Linked DNA regions of Homo sapiens: region 1 is linked to region 2. Evidence: promoter capture Hi-C in human tissues and cell types (Jung and others, 2019). All regions are on one chromosome and are shown on one strand. The core of a region is centred on a gene start or on the middle of the fragment in contact, and the rest is flanking DNA. Distances in the headings are between cores, read along the strand shown. Region 1 holds the start of EHD4 (EH domain containing 4). Region 2 holds the start of TYRO3 (TYRO3 protein tyrosine kinase).

What was found. The method cuts DNA at HindIII sites, captures the fragments that hold promoters and counts their contacts. A contact is called where the count stands out against the background at its distance.
Region 1: the fragment with the promoter of EHD4 here is called in contact with the fragment with the promoter of TYRO3 in region 2 in 1 of the 25 tissues and cell types used here (IMR-90 fibroblasts).

What each region holds. Positions count from the first base shown.
Region 1 is chr15:41,970,011-41,975,157 of GRCh38, forward strand. It overlaps EHD4 (EH domain containing 4), which reads right to left and starts at 2,547. Exons shown (of 6, transcript NM_139265.4): 1 at 2,249-2,547. The coding sequence starts at 2,484. PLA2G4E-AS1 (PLA2G4E antisense RNA 1) reads left to right here and starts at 2,753. Exons shown (of 4, transcript NR_120334.1): 1 at 2,753-2,988; 2 at 3,794-3,948. RefSeq lists an enhancer at 7-226 and silencers at 1,989-2,258, 2,359-2,428, 2,469-2,598. The HindIII fragment of the contact is 6,706 bases long and covers 1-5,147 here.
Region 2 is chr15:41,555,491-41,561,286 of GRCh38, forward strand. TYRO3 (TYRO3 protein tyrosine kinase) reads left to right here and starts at 3,722. Exons shown (of 19, transcript NM_006293.4): 1 at 3,722-3,891; 2 at 5,637-5,796. The coding sequence starts at 3,768. It also overlaps the pseudogene ELOCP2. RefSeq lists enhancers at 3,141-3,642, 4,209-4,850 and silencers at 3,371-3,460, 3,406-3,572, 3,511-3,650, 3,661-3,830, 4,137-4,337. The HindIII fragment of the contact is 10,010 bases long and covers 1-5,796 here.

The DNA of each region.
Region 1 (5,147 bases), core at 1,297-3,796, 410 kb after region 2:
TAAGGCAGGATCCAGGATGCTCAGCACCCTGGGCCAACCCTTCCGCTCAAGATGAATCCATGGTTCATTTACAGTGTCTGGGGTGATATTTAATTCCAAGTTCACAAGTCTCCAGGGTAGCTGCCCTTTTGTTTGGGGATTTCCTCCCGGGTGCTAAATCACTTCCTCCTAGCTCCAATCTGAAAAGCAATTCAGGTCTCCTGTGGCCTCACCAAGCTTCCTGCCCACACTGATTTTCTTCTAACCTCACTGGTCTACCTTGTGTACATCACCTAACAACAAAGCCACTTAGCTCAAGGAAAGCCTCAAGAACAAATGGCTTCCTAATAAGGTGATTCCTCCCTCACCCTAGGGTGGCCCACAGCTCCAGCACCTGCTGAGAGGTGGCCAATTTGGATGAGGTAGCTGCCAGGAATCAAATCTCAGAACCCTTCATAAAACTGCGCTTAGCTATTCCACAAATTTCTCCAAATAATGAAACAGAGAGAAGAGTGAGAATATAATGAGAGAGAAATCTGGAAAAATACAAAAGATAAATTCATGTTCCTGTGAGTTGTATTCATCTTCCTGGGAGTTGATAATCAGGCTGGCTAGCTATCCAGTCTATGGGAGCAGAGAGAGGGCTGCATTATCTCCAGGTTGGCACAGCATCTAGCAGGGGCTCCCTGATGACACCTGGGCACAACAAGGACCTCACAGCAAAGACAAACAGGAGGAAATGCCTAGGGTGTGGGGACATGCCACCACTAAATTACAAAAATATATGCCTTTCTTCTTTGTATGTTTCAACAGTACCGCTTCCCACTCTTGTACCACTTGGCCATAACACTTTATTATCCCTAGTACCTAAAAACTAGACAGTATTACTGAGACCTTAAATGTGACATTTGTCATCTTTCAAGGTGCCAGTTACTGTAATACAGCTATGGTTCATTTTGAGTGTCTGGGTGACGGTGACATATTTAATTCTATTTTTGTCTTGTCCATAAGCACCAAATAAAGCAATTTTGAAATTACTTTCTTCACACTCAATTTATTATCTAGAACGACATTTCAATACACAGTATATTTGTTTTGTGGAATTCATTCGCAGTGTATCTGGAGGCCTGGATTTAACATATTTCCTGTAGTGATAGCTACTCTATTTGTAGGAACTATTTAGGTCACTGGAGTGGAGAAAAAGAGGTCGCTACTTAACAGAAATGGCATGTATCCAAATATAGATGCAGTTTTCTCAACACCTGTTGCACATCAAATGATGAAGAGATTGTTACAATTTCCAAAACCCTGGACCAAAACCTTAAATGATCAGCACTTTGTTTCAACTGATACACGGCTTAAGTCAGAAAAATAAGTTCTTCTTACCAAAAACAGTGAGCCTAAATATGCTGGCTGCTTTAGAAATAAAACAGGTGATCAACAAAGCAATCTGTTTCTGTCTAAATAATTTCCCAGCAAAAGTCACTTCTTTTGAAACTATATGATTTGAACCACAGGGTATGCACAGTGATTGTGTGCTTTCAGAAACACGGTAAGCATGACAAATATTTTCAGTTGTCAAGGGTAAGCGAGGAGGGAATGACCCACCTAAGAAATGGAAACTAACAAATAGTAATATGACACTCCCCCTTAGTTCCACAGGCTGGTGCGGCTGCTACACGCAGCTCACTTCCTACGGGCGGCTAAAGGCGGTGCATGAACTGAACGTAGGCGGCCTCTTTATCCCCTCCCCACAACACTGTGGGGTGGCACGTAAAGACCTCAAGGGAAGGGGGCCTGGGCGATACGCTCTCCTGCTGCCATTCATTTGTTCAAGAAATAGTTGAACAAATGAATAGTTAAACAAACTCTCCAACTAGGACTCTGTCCCATTCGGATACCCTACGCCTCTCCCCCCATTTCCATCCCTAGGCATCACTCCCTCGTCAAGAATATGCTGATTATGGCTCGCGCCCCCTCTCTCCCTTGGACCCTCCCGCCAGGGCGACCGGACGAGGCCAGCGGGAGCAACGCCTTCCGAACCGCAAGGAAGGAGGGCTCGGAGTGCGCAGGGCGCGGGTTCGCGGGACCCTCCAGCGCGCGGGGCTGGCCAGCCGGGGCGGGGCCGAGGGCACCGGGCGCCGAGCTCCGGGAGGGGTCCCCGAGGTCGCGCCGGCCGGGAGGGGCAGCGGCGGGAGGCGGCCGACTGCGGCGCACACGTGGGGAGGGCGGAGCGGGGCGGGAGCCGGGCGAGGGGCGGTGACGGTACCTGATGAAGGTGGTCTTGCCGGTGCTGTACTGGCCCACCAGCAGGATCATGGGCTTGTTCTCGAAGTCGGCGTCCTCCAGCGCAGGCGAGTGGAACTCGTGGAAGCGGTACGCCTCCTCCAGCGGCAGCACCTTGCGCAGGTAGAGCGAGCGCAGCCCGCCCGTCACCGTCTGCACCGCGTCCGCGCCGCCAGCGCGTTCGCGCCCGCCCGCCTGCCGCCCCATCCAGCTGAACATCCTGCCGCCAGTCCACGCTCGGATGGGACCCTGCTCCGGGTTCGACTCTCCCCGGCTCGCACTGAGCCGCCCCGGCCGCGCTGGCCGCCGCCCGAGGAGGGCCCCGCCTTGTGCTGCCACAGCCAGTCTTCGGCCGCTACGTCACGCGCGCTCGCCCACTATTCAGACGAGCTCTCTCAGGTCCTTCCTGATTGGATCTCTGCCAGAGAGGGCTGAAGGCGTCAGCCAATTGAGAGGAGGTTCTTAATGAATTATTGATGACGGAGTCATTCTAGAGGACTGGGCGGGGAGATGGTGTCTTCCCGGCCGGGTGGCACTGACCGGTCATGCTCAGGGCCCCCTTCTGGTTGCCGGTGCCTCACCTCTGGCCAGGTGGCATCGGCTTCCGGGTAAATCTGAGCTGCCCAAAGCGAGCCTCCGGAGGCTGCTCCATCTCCTGGAACGTTTACTCATTCAGGCCTCTGGACGTCGATACTGGGGATGAAAAGTTCAGAAAGTGGACAGGCAGGTTCTGTCTTCCCGGGGGCGGGTGGTTATGACTCCGTTTTACAGGCCAAGAGACCCAGGCTCACGGGCATAATTGACACAATCTTGAGGGGAAGTGGACTGGAATCTATTTGAGTAGCCGTTTCTCCTACTTCTCCACATTGCCCTCACTAAATTCTGGATCAGCTAAAGGCTTTTTCCCCTTAGTTTTCTTTATGTGTTTTTCTGTAAAGCCGAAAATTTAGTCATTACTCTCATTATTACATTATCCTCATTATTACAACTTTATTTCCACATATTGACATGTGAGTCATTGTCACCTCCTAGCTGTTTTTTGTTGTTGTTGTTGTTTTCTGAGACGGAGTCTCGCTCTGTCGCCCAGGCTGGAGTGCAGTGGCACGATCTCGGCTCACTGCAACCTCCGCTTCCCGGGTTCAAGCAATTTTCCTGTCTCAGCCTCCTGAGTAGCTGGGACTACAGGCGCTCACCACCATGCCCAGCTAATTTTTGTATTTTTAGTAGAGATGGGGTTTCACCATATTGGTAAGGCTGGTCTTGAACTCCTGACCTCAGATGATCCGCCTGCCTTGGCCTCCCAAAGTATTGGGATTATAGGCGTGAGCCACCGCCCCTGGCCTGTTTCTTTTCTAGGTTAAAAGGATACTCACTTATCTAAGTTGAGATTGGGGGAAATAATCACCTTTTGTGTCCTTGATTGTAGCTTAGGAATATTTCTTAGTTGTTTTAGAGCATTTCTCAAGTGTGATCCATGGGGCCACCTGCATATATGCATTTATGAGCTGGGATGCTTGTTAAAATGCAGATTCCTGGTCTTCAGTCCAGACCTACTGAGTTAAAATATTGAGGAGAGATGGAGCTCAACAGATGCCCTAGGTGACTCTGATGTGGCCTAAGTCTGGGGAAACAGTACACCCTGCAGTACTTCTCCAACCTAACAGAAATGCGGATTCTGATTCGGTAGGTATGGGATGGGGCCCATGACTCTACATTTCTAACAGGCTCTCGGGTATTGCCAATGCTACCCATCCCTGGACCATACTTGGAGTATGAGAGAACAGGACTTTGCATCAAAAGATCTGGGTTTGAACCTTGACTATGTAAATTAATGGCTGTGTGATTTTAAATGTGATGAGTTACCTCTCTGCCCTAGTTTCCTTAAGAGCAAAATGGAAACTCCTTTGGAGTTGTTGTGTGGGTCACATAGTTGGAGGGAATTGTATGTAACTAGGGAAGTGAAAAGAAAGCCAAGGGAAAATAAAGTTAGACATCTGCCTTGTGTCAAAATAAAACAAAGATTGAAATGTAAAAAGAAAATGAAACCACTGCACTACTAGAAGAAGGTACAAGAGATTTATACAATTTGGCGGTGGAAAAGCCTTTCTAACCAACATTAAGGACAGAAATTATGAAAGCAAAGGCTGACATATTTGACAACAAAAGTAAAAGCTTCGATGTATTTTTTTAGAATACATAAAAACAAACGGATATAAATACAATCTTACCATATGATGCAGAAATCAGCTCCTTAGTATTTACCCAAATGAATTGAAAACTTATATCCACAGAAAAGCCTGTACATGGATGTTCATAGTGGCTTTATTCATAAGTGCCAAAAATTGGAAGCAACTAACATGTCCTTCAGTAAGTGAAAGGATAATCTGTGGTACATCCAGACAATGGAATCTTATTCAGCACTAAAAAGAAATGAGCTATCAAGCCATAAAAAGACACAGAGGAAACTTAAATGCCTATTACTAAGTGAAAGAAGCCAATCCGAAAATGCTATGTACTGTACGATTTCATCTTTATGACATTCTGGAGAAGGCAAAATTATGGAGGAAGTAAAAAGGTCAGTAGTTTCTAGGTGTTAGGGAGAAGGAAGGAATGAACAGGCAGAGAACAGAGGATTTTTATGGCAGTGGCTCTACTTTTTATGGTACTATAATGATGGATACATGTCATTATATATTTGTCAAAACCCACAGAATGTACAACACCAAGAGTGAATGTAAGTGATAATGACTCGTGAATTTCAGATCAGTTTTAGGTTCACAGCAAAATGGAGCATAAAGTACCGAGAGTTCCCATATACCCCCACCCTCCCCGACACACAGCCTCCCCCACTATCAACATCCTGAACCAATGGAACATTCGTT
Region 2 (5,796 bases), core at 2,472-4,971:
TCTCCCAGGTTCAAGTGGTTCTCCTGCCTCAGCCTCCTCAGTAAGTAGCTGGGATTACAGGCAGCCGCCACCACATCCAGCTAATTTTTGTATTTTTAGTAGAGATGAGGTTTCACCATGTTGGCCAGGCTGGTATCGAACTCCTGACCTCATGATCCGCCTGCCTAGGCCTCCCAAAGTGCTGGGATTACAGGTGTGAGTCACTGCTCCCGGCCTCCTCTCTGCCCCTGTAAGTAGAAATACTACGGCTGGGCAAGGTGGCTCATGCCTGTAATCCCAGCACTTTGGGAGGCGAAGGTTGCAGTGAGCCGAGATCACGCCATTGCACTCCAGCCTGGGTGACAAAGCGGGACTCCGTCTCAAAAAAAAAAAAAAAAAAAGAAATACTATGAATTGAGAGAGATTTAGAATTAGGGGTAGGGGAAGCAGGAACTCAGGGCCCCCTGTCCCACACAGAAAGTGTGCTGCCTCTGTGACAGTGATGTATCTCAGGCTGGTGGCTGAGGTGGGAAGTTTGTCAAGGCTGTAAGTGGCATCCATCACATGTCCGAGAAGCCCATTTTGACCAGTAGAAAAGGATGGCCTTTAGGGTGGGATTCCCTATCAGCTCAGGAAATGGTGCGGAGGGAATGAAGAGAGATAAGGAAGTAAAAGGCTGGGTTGGGCTCTGGGTCCAACATCCTCTAGAATGAATCTTACTAATGTCAGCTGGAATCAAGAGGAGGAGGCTCCCCTTCACTGGAAACTTGAAGTCCCCCTCAGAGAAAAGGCGGGAGAGAGGGCTTGGAAAAGTGACAAGTGCCCAAGAGCAGCCCAGGCAATTCTGCCTTCGGCCCCAGACTATTGTCTGCCTGCCCTGACTCAGCCCAAACTCAGAAACTGTGGATTCTGGAAAGTAACGAGACTTTTCCTTTGGGAAAGGGTCCTGAAGCTGACCCACAGTGCTCAAGAAAATTGGCAGAGAGGCCAGGCACAGTGGCTCACACCTGTAATCCCAGTATTTTGGGATGCCGAGGTGGGCGGATTACCTAAGGTCAGGAGTTTGAGACCAGCCTGGCCAACATGGTGAAACCCTGTCTGTACTAATAATACAAAAATGAGCCGAACGTGGTGGTGGGCACCTGTAATCCCAGCTACTCATGAGGCTGTGGCAGGAGAATCGCTTGAACCCATGAGGTGGAGGTTGCAGTCAGCCAAGATCGCACCATTGCACTCCAGCCTGGACGACAAGCGTGAAACTTCATCTAAAAAAAAAAAAGAAGAAGAAGAAGAAGAAAGAGAGGAAGAGGAAGAAGCAGAGAAGAATAGGAGGAGGAGGAGGGGAAGGGGAAGTGGAAGGGGAAGGGGAAGAGAGGGAGAGGAAGAAGAAGAAGAAAGAAGGAAGAAGAAGGAAGAAGGAAGAAGAACATAATTGCCAGAGAGCTCAGTGAAACAGAGACAGAGGAGACGGAAGTGAGCCACACACTCTGTGTCCTCGCCTCACCAGGAAACTACTAAAGTTCCTGGGGAAGCAAAGTAGAATTTCATAAGAACAAAATGGATGGAGAGGAGAAAACCTATGGTGGCTGTGAAGGCCCTGATGCCACGTATGTCAAATTGATATCATCTGATGGCCATGAATTTATTGTAAAAAGAGAACATGCATTAACATCAGGCACGATAAAAGCCATGTTGAGTGGCCCAGGCGTTTTATGGGTTTGGCTTTTAAATTTAGGTCTTTGGTCTTAAGTTAATTTTTGTTTATGCTGTGAGGTCAGTTTGCTGAGAACGAAACCAATGAGGTCAATTTTAGAGAGATACCTTCACATGTGCTATCGAAAGTATGCATGTATTTTACCTACAAGGTTCGCTACACTAACAGCTCCATCGAGATTCCTGAATTCCCAATTGCACCTGAAATTGTACTAGAACTGCTGATGGCTGCGAACTTCCTAGATTGTTAAATAAAATAAATTATAATAAACTGTTAACTCTTTTCAGTATGTAATACCTGTAGATCAGTTAGTAACTTTTTCATATATAGCATGTTGCCTGTATGCAGTTTAACTATATAAAGTTCATTGCAAAGCAGATTATCTTGTTTTTTTCATAGCAATCAAAGTTGAAATTTGTTTGCTACATCAACAAATTAAGAACATTTTCACAAACTGAGAAATAAACAAATATGCCAATTAAAAAAAAAAAAAGAAAGAAACAGAGACAGAGATATCTGGCCCCTGCCATCCATGTCTTGACAGTGCCTCATGAGTCTCTCCTCCTGCTGCCGCCTGGGGGCGCCCCCAGCTGGGTCTCAGGCTGCTGCCAGCACTGCTGTTGTTATCATTAGGGTAATTAATAAACAAGCACTGCTGGGGCCAAGTGGAAGAAGAGGCAGGCCCCTGCTGCTCAGGAGAATCCCTGAAAAGATCCAGTGAGCCTGCGGCAACCGGAGCTGAGTGGCTGGTCCCTCCTCTCTACCCAGGACCTCTGGAAGGGGTGTGGGGTGGGCTTCCCCCTGGAGGGAAGGGCAAGGGGAGGAGCACACTTGGTAGGCTTGGTTTGGAACCAGCTCTGCATGTGCCTAACAGGATGTCTGTGGGCAAGGCCACCCTCGTGATTACTGGTTGTGGGGCAGGCTCTGAAGCAATTATTCATTCATTTAACAGGCATCTGCCTATTTATTTATGGAAAGCCTACTGTGTGCAAGGTGGTCTACTAATAATAGCTAATGTTTGACTGGACAGTGTGACGACACAGCCAACTTTCACACCAGGTCCTGGGAAAAGGGGTAGAAGCAGGGGAAGCAACCAGGAAAAATGACAGCCCAAAAAGATACGGGCAATTAGGCTTTGGCCTGTGTAGTGTAGTGGTGGGGATATATATTAGGTAAAACCTGGGGATTACCAAGATCTTGGGAAACTCAGGACCCAAGTTGGAAAACATACGGCAATTGGGGCTGGAGAAAATGGGCATTTTTCAGGTGGGAGGGACTTGGAGATAAAGGCATGGCAATAGGACATGAATATGGGGATTTTGGGTGAATGGCTCAATGAAAGGGAGGCACGAAGGGATGCTAGCCGATCCTGTTGGGGGAGCCCCGGGTCACGGCAGTTTCGGGGAGCCAGATGGATGGGAGTGTCTAGGGGTTGAGGTGCTCTAAGTCCTGAGAGGGGGATGCTGGATTCTGGGATCAGAGTCCGAACAAGAGTTGGGGTGTGGTGGGGGCTGACAGCGGGGTTTTGAGGGAAGGCTCTGGAGGGCTGGGTTAGAAAAGATGCCGGAGCGGGTTTAGGGAAAGGAGGGGCGTGGCCGGGGAGCCCATCCTGGAGGCCAAGCCGGATCCTCAGGTTTGGCCAGGGGGCGGCTGGGGCCGGCGTGCCGGCGGGGCGCCGGCGGGGCCGCGGGGGTTTGCGGCGCTGGCTGGGATTCGCGCTCCGAGCCAGTCGCCGGGGCTCCGCGGGGGGGCGGTGCGAGCTCGGGCTGCGGGCGGGCCGGGAGGAGGCGGCGGCTCCGAGAAGAACATGAATCAGCGGCGGCGACGGCGGCGACGGCAGTGGAAGGAGCGCGGTGGCGCGGGAGCGGCCCCGGGGACCCCGCGCTGCTGACGGCGGCGACCGCGGCCGGAGGCGGGCGCGGGTCTCGGAGGCGGTCGCCTCAGCACCGCCCCACGGGCGGCCCCAGCCCCTCCCGCAGCCCTCCTCCCTCCCGCTCCCTTCCCGCCGCCTCCTCCCCGCCCTCCTCCCTCCTCGCTCGCGGGCCGGGCCCGGCATGGTGCGGCGTCGCCGCCGATGGCGCTGAGGCGGAGCATGGGGCGGCCGGGGCTCCCGCCGCTGCCGCTGCCGCCGCCACCGCGGCTCGGGCTGCTGCTGGCGGCTCTGGCTTCTCTGCTGCTCCCGGAGTCCGCCGCCGCAGGTAGGGGCTGGCACGGGAGGCGGCGGGAAGCGGGGGGCTGCGGAGGGGCGCGGCCGGGGGTCGGAGCCCGGGGCGGGCCTGGCGGGCTGGAGTCGGGGTGGGGGTCCGGAGCCGAAGGCCGAGGCTCGGAGCCGGGACAGGGCACGCTGCGGAGTGCTCGCCGCCAGATCTCCGGCCGGGCCCCCACCCCCAACTTTCTGGCGCTCGGGGCTCTTCTGGCGGGGTGGAAGAGAAGGGAGCGGGGTGTGGGCTGTGTGGTCAGCGGGGAGTGTTTGGGACTGCATTTTCCCGCCTCGATGTTCCCAGCTGTTAGCTCCCTCCTTCCCAGTACTGGGGACCCCATTCTGCCTGCCCCGCACGCGAAGGTCCGCCTCGGAAACCACACGGGCCGGGGCTGGGCACCCAAAGGCCACCCTGATACCATTTAGGTACACAGGGGCTGTGAGGGTGCCCAGTCACAAAAAACAAATGGGCACACTCGAGTTCCTGTGCCCTCAGAGCTTCCTGAAAGCAGAACCTTGGAGAGGATGGGCTGGTGCCAGGTTGCTGGTCTTTGGGAGGGGTTAGTCTTGTGTTCCCACATAGCCACTGAGGCATTTGCTGGTGACAAGAGCGTTCCATGCAGCACGGTGCTCTCCAAGTTCCCACCCCGCACCTCGGGGACTGATGGGCATATAGGGAGCGGGAGGCTGGCCCCCATCCTGTGACTGGTCCTGAGAGGGTGAAGGGAGCAGGGAAGAGCCACAGGCCAGGACAGCGGCCACCCGCTGGCATCTTCTCTTGAGACAGCATTCCTTGCCATATCAGCCTCTCAGGGAAGGGAAGGGAAACGGGGTGACGAGTATTTACAAGCCGAAAGGTGCGGACCTGATGCTCAGGGAGCCCACGACTTTGCCTAGAGTCACACAGCAAAGGGTGAGAAGAAGCAGGGCTGGATTTCAGTTATGTGGATACTTGACCTGCCCCTCTCTCTGCTTAAAAACATGCCAGGAGGCCAGGAGAGGTGCGTGTATGTGTGTGTGTGTGTGTGTGTGTGTGTGTGTGTGTGCGCGCGCGCGCGCGCGCTCGCACGCAAGTTCCAAAGAGTGGCCCCTGTTAATGTGGCAGTGGCTCAGGGGTCTTAGGCTCCCTGCTCAGGGCCCCAGCCCTCCCTTCTGCCTCCCACCTTCCTAGCACTCGCCCCTGCCCACATTCAGGTATTAATAGAGTGGATGGCTGCCAGGAAGGCTGCCATGTGTTTGATCTGACGTGGTTTTGCAGCCATATGTTCTCCACTTCAGGGGAGCACCCCCTCCTTTCCTTCTTCAGCCCTGCTCCATTTGGTAAGGTTGGGTGCAGAGGGTGCTGGCAGCAATTCAGGGTCTGGGCTGACACCTTGGGTGGAGAGCTGGCAGCCTGTTGCACTAGTTGGGTGCAGCAGTCATTCCTAGAGCAGTGCCTGCCCCAGTAGGGTAACTCCCATCGTTTCAGCCCAGCCTGCCTTCCTTTTGCTGTCTGGGCTCAGAAGGAGGACATGGGGAAGAGGTCCTTAGAGCCGGAGGGAACTTGGAGAGCTTGCCATGCCCCTTCCCTTCGCCCAGGTCCAGCGACCTTCCCTTCCACACTGTCCTACCTCTGCTTCCTTGACTTTGGCTGAGAAAGAGCCCTCTGTCTGACACAGAAGCTACCTTCTAGAAGAGAATGGGAACTGTTTACAGAGACAGAGTCCCTCTCAAGGCTGACACATGTTCCTTCCCACCCCTCAGGTCTGAAGCTCATGGGAGCCCCGGTGAAGCTGACAGTGTCTCAGGGGCAGCCGGTGAAGCTCAACTGCAGTGTGGAGGGGATGGAGGAGCCTGACATCCAGTGGGTGAAGGATGGGGCTGTGGTCCAGAACTTGGACCAGTTGTACATCCCAGTCAGCGA